Linked DNA regions of Homo sapiens: regions 1 and 3 are each linked to region 2. Evidence: promoter capture Hi-C in 16 types of primary human blood cells and fetal thymus (Javierre and others, 2016). All regions are on one chromosome and are shown on one strand. The core of a region is centred on a gene start or on the middle of the fragment in contact, and the rest is flanking DNA. Distances in the headings are between cores, read along the strand shown. Region 1 has its middle 21 kb from the start of SMAD5. Region 2 holds the start of LECT2 (leukocyte cell derived chemotaxin 2). Region 3 overlaps SMAD5 (SMAD family member 5).

Region 1 (3,384 bases), core at 402-2,901, 160 kb before region 2:
CCATGCCTCCATACTGGCTTTGTTTACACACTGCTGCATTTGTGTGTCTGTCTGCCCCGACACTGTGAGCTCCCTGAGGGCAGAATATAGGCTCAGGTTTATCTTTGTTTCCAGCATCATACAACATGCATTCAATGTGTGCTTACAGGAGGAACGAAGTCACTTGTCTTTGTGTCCTCAAACCCAGCACAGCACATAGTACAGAGCCCATCAGTCCCACTCACAATTCGCTGACCAAGTGAATAAATGAGTGTCTTTGCTCTCCTTTTTATCCCCCAGATTTACCACCAGGCCTGGAACAGAGTGAATGACAGTAAATATTTCCAGAATCAAATGAATAAGCCCCCATCACCACAGGACCTCAGAGCTTTCCAGGTGTCCCCTGGGAGGGCAGAAATTAAAGGGAACAGACAGTGCCCAGAAATCAGCTAACCTGGGTGCTGGTCTTGGCTCTAGTTCATGGTGATGGTAACACTGAAGACATTTGAGCCTTCCTAATCCCAGTGCTGGGATTATGGACTGAACCCTAGCTGGCAGAAGGCAGCAGATTCCAAGGACTATTTCCCCCAGAGCTGCTTCCTTCCTGGTACTCTCCATAACCCCAGCAGGCCCCTCAACTCCCACTAGACCACACTGCTCCTCTAGGGGCTTCCCTTGCCTGCTGGTTCACAAACGCTGCTGCTCCCCTCCACTCCCTCTTTCCCTTAGCTGTGAGTTAAGAGTCCTGGGGCACTTCCCCATACTGACAATCTCTTTGGCCCCACCTCTCATAGAAACACATGCTCCTTTTGCAAGGGCCCATGTGAAATTCTGAGCATGACAGCTTTCCCTCCCAACTCTCTGATGTATAAAGGAATCTGAAGACAAGAAGGCACTTTGTTTTTGTCCCTAGTGAGCTTCCTAAAATGTTTACAGGTGTGTATTAGGCCATTCTTGCATTGCTGTAAAGAAATACCTGAGACTGGTAATTTATAAAGAAAAGAGGTCACGAAATGACCTCATGGTTCCACAAACAGTACAGGAGACATGATGCTGGCATCTGGTCAGCTTCTGGAGAGGCCTCAGGAAACTTACAGTCATGGCAAAAGGTGAAGTGGGAGCAGGCATGTCACATAGCCAGAGCAGGAGCAAGAGAGGGAAGGTGTCACACACTTTTAAATAACCAGATCTTATGAGAACTCACAATCATGAGGACAGAACCAAGAGGATGGTGCTAAACCATTAATAAGAAATTCACCCCCTTGGCCGGGTGTGGTGGCTCACACCTGTAATCCTAAGCACTTTGGGAGGCCGAGGCAGGCAGATCACCTGAGCTCAGGAGTTCAAGACCAGCCTGGGCAATGTGGTAAAATCCCATCTCTACCAAAAACACAAAAAATTAGCTGGGCATTGTGGTGCATGCCTGTAATCCCAGCTACTTAGAAAGCTAAGACAGGAAAATTGCTTGAACCCAGGAGGCGGAGGTTTCATTGAGTTGACATCATGCCACTGCACCCCAGCCTGGGTGACAGAATGAGACTCTGTCTCAAAAAAAAAAAAGAAAGAAAGAAAGAAATTCACTCCCATGATCGAATCACTTCCCACCAGCACCCCCCCACCCACCCCCCAACACTGGGGATTACATATGGACATGAGACTTGGGCAAGGACACACATCCAAACTATATCAAGGTGGGTGACAATCTTGTTCTCTACTCGCTAATCTTCACTGCCTGACAACTGCCTGATGAGCCCTGAGTCTCTTCCCAAACTGTTTTTCTAGGTCTGCAATTTGAGCTGCCACCAAGCTCTGAGCCTGGGACTAACAGCTTAGGGGTGATTAGCAGCTTAAAATGGAGAACCTTCCCTCATGTGGCTGTGAGACAGGCATATGAAATAGTAATTTTGACAGTAATTTGAGTGTACTGTTAAGTGTATTGTTATTGCCCCTATTTCACAGGTGAGAAAACTGAGGTTGAAAGCAACATGAGAAGGCCATTTGCTCAAAATCATATTATTATTATTATTTATTATTTGAGACAGAGTCTCACTCTGATGCCCAGGCTAAAGTGCAGTGGCTCAATCATATAGCTCACTGCAGCCTCGACCACCCAGACACAAGTGATCCTCCAACCTCAGCCTCCCCAGTAGCCGGGACCACAGGCAGATGCTACCAAGCCTGAGTTATTTGTTTTTATTTTTTGTAGGGATGGGGTCTCCCTACATTGCCCAGGATGGTCTCAAACTCCTGGGCTCAAGTGATTCTCCTGCCTTAGGCTCCCAAAGTGCTGGGATTACAGGTGTGAACCACCATACCCAGCCAAAGTCACACTTTTAAGTGATAGAGTCAAGTCTGTATGAATCCAAAGCCCAAAACTTTGATGCCTTGCTATGCTGCTATGTGTTCTGAGAACAGCCCAAATCTGAATGTTTTAAAGCCTAATTCATCCATAATGTTGAGTAGTCATTTCTGAAACTCAGACAGATTTGAATGATGCTGAAGATCATAGAGCATCCAGGTTTCCAGATGATAGGACTATTAACTTGGATTTGGGGAAAAAAAGAGAATTCTAAGGATCCACATAGACACCCTGAGAGGCAAGTTTCTGTTGCTATGCAGCAAGCTGTGTGCTAGGTAAAGATGACACGGAGCTTCAGTTTCCTCCCTTCGATCATTATTTTACTTCCCTGTTCAAAAATACACACCAAACATCCTCTACACAAGCATTGCTCATGTAACTGGTGTACAACCATGGACAAGCAGATGCAGTCCCTATTCTCATACATCTCATATTCGAATGAAATTCTGGAAGGGAACAACATTCCCTCCTTGTTAGAGCATCCTAGTCATCCTCTAACAAGCCTGACAATGGCCATCAGCTCTCTGCTTACACTCTTCCTGTGACAGGGAACTCACTGCTGCTGTAGGAAATGGTTCATTCCTTTATATACTCAGTTTCTTAGGTAATTCCTTACAATGAGTCAAAAATGCCCCACTTCCCCTATAACCCATCCCCATTTTATTATCATTACTATTCTTTTTGAGATAGGGTGTTGCCCTGCCACCCAGGCTGGAGTGCAGTGGCACAATCATAACTCACTTGCAGCCTCAAACTCCTGGGCTCAAAAGATCCTCCTGCCTCAGCCGCCCAAATGACTGGGACTACAGGCACATACCACTGTGCCCAGCTAATTTTTACATTTTTTTGTAGACATGGGACCTTGCTTTGTTGCCCAGGTTGGTCATTCCCACTATTGACAAGGATACATATCCTCTGGAAACCCACAGAATAGGTCTAAGGTCTTCCATCATGAGTTAGCTTTTAAATATTTCAGGGTAGTTCACATGACTTGTATAAATCTTCTCACTGTTAAAAAGGCTCAGAGACAGTTCTGGGCCTCTCCC
Region 2 (3,257 bases), core at 392-2,891:
TGTAGAAACACAGGAAGGAGTGTGCAAAGACTAAGGCCCCAGAAGACCCAGGCTTTCCCGACCCACTGCCACTTCTGCCTCATCTTAGTGGTCAAAGCTACACAGCTAAACCCAAAATCAAGGGTGAGGAAAGTTCCCTTTGCCCCCATGAAACATGGCAAAGGTGTGGATGCAGAGAGGGTGAAGAACTGGGGCTACAATCCCAATCTCCCACAGCTACTGGCACATAATTTAAATGGGGAAGCTTCCATAGAAAATTCCAGGTGCTCATCTAATATTAAGCTAAAAAGGAGCTGCTAACATATATTTGAAACACACTGAAAATTTAATTCCCCAGAAAAGTACAGGGTAACATAACATCCATGTGTCTATCTCCAATAATTAACAAATTAATATTTTAACATATTTGCTTCTGATTTTTTTCTTTTTTTAGAAATAAAATATTTTAGAGTTTATGTACTCTGTATATCCTTCCACGGTTTTATTTCTCTCACTATCCAGAAGTAATTAGTACCTTAAAGGTAGTCTGTGCATATTTTTATTATACATACAGCATTCATTAAGATTAATATACTTGTTTTCAGATTTTACATATTATAAATAGTATGATACTATATATATAATTCTAAAAATAGCTTTTTAATTCAACAGTATATCTAGAGATCTAGCTGTGTTAATACATGTAGATTGTCTTCATTTAAATTGTTATATTTTACTCTGTTGTATGACTGTATTATTCTGTTCTTGCATTGCTATAAAGAAATACCTGAGATTGGGTAATTTATAAAGAAAAGAGGTACAGAAAGCATGGTAGCTTCTTGGGACGTCTCAGGAAACTGAAAATCATGGCGGAAGGCAAAGGGCAAGCAGGCATGTCTTACACGGCTGAAGCAGGAGGAAGTGAGAACAGGGGAGGTGCTACACACTTTTAAACAACCGGATCTCACCATAACTCACTCACTCACTATCAGGACAACAGCACTAAGGGGATGATGCCAACCCATTCATGAGCACTCTAGCCCCATAATTCAATCACCTCTCACCAGGCCCCACCTCCAACACTGGGGATTACAATTGAACATGAGATTTGGGTGGGGACACAGATCCAAACCATATCAATGACTATATTATAATTAATCTTTTTTCCTTTATTGATGGATGCTTTTAATGGTGTTAACTTACCATTATCATAAACAAGAAAACATTTAAAAATCACATATTTAAGGTGAATACATGCAATTTTATTAAAATATTAAAGTTATTTGCAAATATTACACAGGTGAAATATAATTAAACTGAGAATTCAAAAACACCTAAGGGATATATTAAGGAATATGTTATGAAGGGCTACACATTATTAATGACCAATTTTCTTCTGAAATATGTGCTATCAAGGAAATAAAAGAAAGATCTACCAGCAGGCAGCACTAAATATTCCATCATTCGCACGAACATTCTCCTACAAGCCACAGCCCAGAAGACTGTCGATATGCACCTAGCCTTATCATTTTCTGTTAATATTTAGTCAGTATTTCCAATATAATTGGCTTCTTCTTCAGATCAAAGGCTTTTACATAGGCCCTACCTGCAAATCAAATAGCTATCCATGGAATATTAGAACTTGACTTGCTCCATCCTCTTAAACTTTTTGTGTCTCACACTAAAGAAATGAGAGATGCAGAATTCTAAGGCTAAATAGCTAGGAAGTATTCATTCAAACTTGAATATTCTTCAAAGAGAGTGTGGGGGCAACTCTAATCAGAGGAAGAAACTAAAGGAAGTAAAACCAGATGTTTTCCACCAAAGCCCTCCTTTTGGCTGGTCTGATTTCTACCGGTAAGTCGAAAGTGCAATTTTAGAATATTGATTAACTTTTAAAAACTGATTTCAGGGGAAGACTAAAAAGATTAAAAAGTCATTAATAGCATGATCACAACAAAGACTTGTGTATTTGGCTATTAAAAATGAAATAGGAATGACACATGGTCCTGAGGATGTTTTAAGTAATTTAAATGGAATGTTCCGGTTCTTTAATGAGGGAAACATAATAGTGGGTTGAGAAGACATTACAAAGCCTTTCAGTCTGAGTCTGGGTCTGGGACTTAACTAGAACAAAACTAGATAATAAAAAGTTGATATAAATATTTGATTCTGATTTTGATCAAAATCAAATTCTGATACAGATACTAATACAGAGACTGGTATGGATTAAGACAAAGGGATGGCTCCCTTAATACTCACCGAAGGAGGAAAAAGTGAATAAATTACTACACTGTCTGATATTTGCCTCAATTCCCAAGGATAAATATTAGTTGCCAAAGTGATGGGATTATATCTTGATCAAGGTGTTGATTTGGAGCTTGGCTCCAAGGCATAAAACTTTTGAAACCCACCTTTTAAAAGTATTTTAAAGAAGAGGCTTAATGGCCATATTCTGTAGGTTCTCTTCACAGGATAGGTATTAATGAAGAGTAAAATGTCTTTAAATAAAATCAATAGTCAAATTACCAGGCTCTCGCTTTTGCTTGTTTGTTTCAAAGTGCAAGGTTGAGTGTGCTCACTGTATCTCTCTGTGAATGTTAACACTGGAAATCCAGGACATTTAATTCCATTGAACATTTATTAAGTGCTTACTATAGTAAAGAAACAAATTGTGCCTGAAACAAAGTTTGCACCAAGTCTGCTGAGAAAGCAGCCCCTCCTCCACGTTTCATAATTTTTCATATAATTGGTTCTACTCCTTCTCCTACCTTCACCCCTAATCTCAGTCTAGGCTAAATTGGTTTGACATTTCAGATTATTTTTAAGAATCTCCCTCTTCCATGTTGGCAACTATGAGAGATTTATCTAGTGTTAAACAAACTTGGCTAGTACAGAGTTCGTTTCTCCTTTAATTCAAACATTTGCTTGGATTTGATTAGTGGAACTAACCATTTCAAAATTACAATTTCTAAAATTATTTTCTGAGCCATGCTATTTTATTATTTTTGCTTAATCTAAAAATAATGATCCCCATGGCAGATAATGAGCAAAGAAAAATAGAAAAGCACAACTTATACCATTTACTAATGGATCTGAAGCAAAGTATAATGATGGAGGCCAATGCTTATAAAGAAACACATTCAGCTGGGCGCAGTGGCTCACGCCTGTAATCCCTGCACTTTGGGAGGCTGAGGCAGGCAGATCACGAGGTCAAGAGATCAAGACCGTCCTGACCAACATGGTGAAACTCCGTCTCTACTAAAAATACAAAAATT
Region 3 (3,368 bases), core at 43-2,542, 200 kb before region 2:
TTTCTGGAAAGTTTTCAGAATCTTTTTTTTAATCTATGATATACAAAAATTTCATGTGGGGCTTTTTTTATCCTTTGTTCTGATTACTTGGTCACTGAGCCCTTTCAATTTTCAGTTTGGGGAAGTGTTTGATATTATTTCTTGGAAAATTTTCTCTCTGCCATCTTCCTCAATGCTCTATTTCCAGAATATATTATTCTATTAGAATTGATATTTAATTTGAAACTGATTCCAGGCCACTTAATGTTTTAACAAGTACTTTTTAAGGCACCAACTCATCTAATGCTCATAACAACCTATTAGGTAGGTAGTATTATTACCATTTTACAATGAGGAAACTAAATCTCAGAAAGGTTAAGGCTTGAGGTAGTATTTGGTAAAACCAGGATTCAAATCCAGAAAGCCTGGCTCCAGAACCCACAGTCTTAATCAATAGACAATACTGTCTATTAGATCAGGGGTCCCTAACCCCCCCAGTTCATGCTCTCTTATGAACCAGGCCATACAGCAGGAGGTGATGGTGAGAGAGAGTGAGCGAAGCTTCATCTGTATTTCCAGCCACTCCCCATTGCTCTCACTACCGCCTGAACTCCGCCTCCTGTCAGATCAGTAGCAGCATGAGATTCTCATAGGAAAGCAAATCCTATCGCCAACTGCACATATGAGGGATCTAGGTTGTGCGCTCCTTATGAGAATCTAATGCCTGATGATCTGTCACTGTCTCCCATCATGCCTGGATGAGACAACCTAGCTGCAGGTAAACAAGCTCAGGGCTCCCACTAATTTGACATTATGGTGAAATGTATAATTATTTCATTACATATTACAATGTAATAATAGAAATAAAGTGCACAATAAATATAATGTGCTTGAATAATCCCAAAACCATCCCCCAACCAATTCTATGGAAAGACTGTCTTCCATGAAACTAGACCCTGGTGCCAAAAAGCTTAGGGTGCACTGTATTCAACTAAACACCTAGGACCACCTAGGTTGGCCCTCTATTTTTCTTATGTTCATTATCTCTTTCTAACTATCCTCCATCTTTTTATCTTTTTGCAAAACTTACTCCACTATATTCTAACTGTGTGAGCATGCCTAAGTTACTTCCCTTTTAAGTCTTTGTTTCCTTATCTATAAACCCATAAGTAAACTGAAAGGGTTGTAAAATGTCAGTACCCTTTTCTAACCCCATGAAGGAATCACTATTCCATCAGTGCTCAATAAATATTAATTGCTATCACTGTTACTACTATCACTACCACCACCTTCTACTACTTTATTAATACTGGTAATATGAAGTGATCCATTCTGCGTCATAGCTGCTTAATCATGGGGGGTCAGCAAGCTAATCTAGCTGGGTAATCTGCCCCTTCCCCCAAGAGTTTGGGCTCAGGGCGAAACATGAGGTCTCTATAGTCTCTTTCCAATAGTTGAACTAGTAAGACATGAAATTTTCCGTTATTTAAAAGTATCAGAGCTATGCCCCAGTCTTTTCTATAGAATGAATCATAGCTGAGAAAAATGTATACAAAAAATAAGACATTTCTATTGGCTGGCTGACTACTAGTCACACTTTGGCTATAGGGGAATACATAAAATTCCTAGACTCCCTCCTAGCAAATAGCAAGCTTGGGAGTTTTTCAGCCTATACTTCTCTATTAAATCCTTTTATCTTCCTTTCTTCATCAGTTCCTTCAGCTATCAGCTTTCCTTGGACTCAGTAAGAAACTGAGAATCATATCATACCAACTGTCTAAAGACACTCTAAAGCTCTTAAGTTGAACTTTCACAGACAGCATAATCACTGCTATCTGCTATCCTTTCTACTAGTCTCCACATCCAATGTTATTTTCAGTCTTTTTACCACACATCTCCACGTGAAACCCAGATAGACTCTAAGGTAACCACTGTGATTCCCACCTCCAGGTATTCAAACCATTGGGTAATTCTCCCTGCTTGAGTATGAGTATGACCTATCACTTCCTTCTAACCAACAGAATATGGCAAAGGTGACAGCGTATGTATGATTACATTCCACAAGAATATAATGTCCTTCTTACCAGAAGACCCTCTCTTCCTTACTGGCTTTGAAGAAGCTGTCATGAATGTGAACTACCTATAAAGAAGGCTATGTGAAAGCAACTAAATCTGTCAACAATCACATGGGCTTGGAAGCAGATCCTTCCCTAATTGAGCTTCTGATAAGACCTTGGCCCTAACCAACACCTTGATTACAGCGCCTTGCAAAGGACCCAGCTAAATGTGACTGGACTCCTCACCCAAAGAAACTGTGAGGTAATAAACATGCATTGTGCTAAGCCACTAAGTTTGTGGCAATCTGTCATGCAGCAATAGATGACTAATGCACTCAGCTAGCAGCTCAGCTTATACCATTCATTATAAAAAAAATTTACTGAGCATCACCTACCAAGTGCCAGACAACAATATACTATTCTAAGCACTAAGGATAGAGTAATGAATGAAATAGAGGAAGACTCTGCTCATGTCAGTCAATAAACAAAATAAATATCTAATATAGAGTCAATTAGTGATGCGGATATTTGAGCAAGGACTGAATGGAATGAGAAAATGTGCCATGGAAAGATCCTGGGGGAGAATAAGTAGACAGCAAGAGTTAAAGCCTGGAAACAGGAGTATGGCAAGTCCAAGGAACAGAGAACTCTGAGGATAGGTCATACAGAGTCTTACAGAAATCTCTTTAAGTGTGACAGCCTTGAAAGTGTTTTCAGTAGGAACTGACATGATTTAGTATGTTTTTAAAAAATCATTCTGGCTGTTGTGTGGAAAACACAATGGGTTAAGGGGAAGAAGAGACGCAGAAAGACCAATTAGGACACTACTTAAGGTGAGTGATGATGATGATGTACTGTACTAAAGTAGTGATGTCACAAATGATGAGAGGTGACATATTTATTAAGACATATTTTGAAGGTGCAGCAAACAGCATTTGCTCATATTTTAAATATAGGATTTAAGTAAGAAGAATAAAAGATGACCTTGCAGTTTAGGGCATTAGCAATTACATGAATGCTGTTGCCATTCACTTCAATAGGGGAAACCAGAGAAAAAAAACTGCGCTTAGACATATTACATTTGGTATGTTTAATAAATAAATATTCAAGTGGAAATGTCAAGTAGGCAACTGGATACACAAATCTAAAACTCAAGGGAGAAGTTGACTTGAGTTCAAAATGTGAGCATCAGCTTATAGACAATCTTAAGACATGTGACAGCATGAAAGCACATAAAGAAATAATATAAATGGAGAAAAGGTCCATGGACTGACTCCTGTGAAAACAGGAGAATACGCCAGCAAAGAGGGGCAAGAACAGTCAGTGAGGTAG

What was found. The method cuts DNA at HindIII sites, captures the fragments that hold promoters and counts their contacts. A CHiCAGO score of 5 or more calls a contact.
Region 1: a contact is called between a fragment that was not itself captured here and the fragment with the promoter of LECT2 in region 2, in 4 of 17 cell types (monocytes, M2 macrophages, M0 macrophages and 1 more). The highest score is 6.0, in monocytes.
Region 3: a fragment that was not itself captured here is called in contact with the fragment with the promoter of LECT2 in region 2 in 4 of 17 cell types (M0 macrophages, megakaryocytes, M2 macrophages and 1 more); the score reaches 6.7 in M0 macrophages.

Annotation. Positions count from the first base shown.
Region 1 is chr5:136,110,209-136,113,592 of GRCh38, reverse strand. No RefSeq gene overlaps it. Among named protein-coding and RNA genes, the nearest start is that of SMAD5, 21 kb to the left of the region's middle. The HindIII fragment of the contact is 8,576 bases long and covers 1-3,384 here.
Region 2 is chr5:135,953,367-135,956,623 of GRCh38, reverse strand. LECT2 (leukocyte cell derived chemotaxin 2) reads left to right here and starts at 1,641. Exons shown (of 4, transcript NM_002302.3): 1 at 1,641-1,836. The coding sequence starts at 1,791. The HindIII fragment of the contact is 4,908 bases long and covers 247-3,257 here.
Region 3 is chr5:136,154,928-136,158,295 of GRCh38, reverse strand. The region is part of intron 3 of SMAD5 (SMAD family member 5); the gene reads right to left. Among named protein-coding and RNA genes, the nearest start is that of SMAD5-AS1, 22 kb to the right of the region's middle. The HindIII fragment of the contact is 682 bases long and covers 952-1,633 here.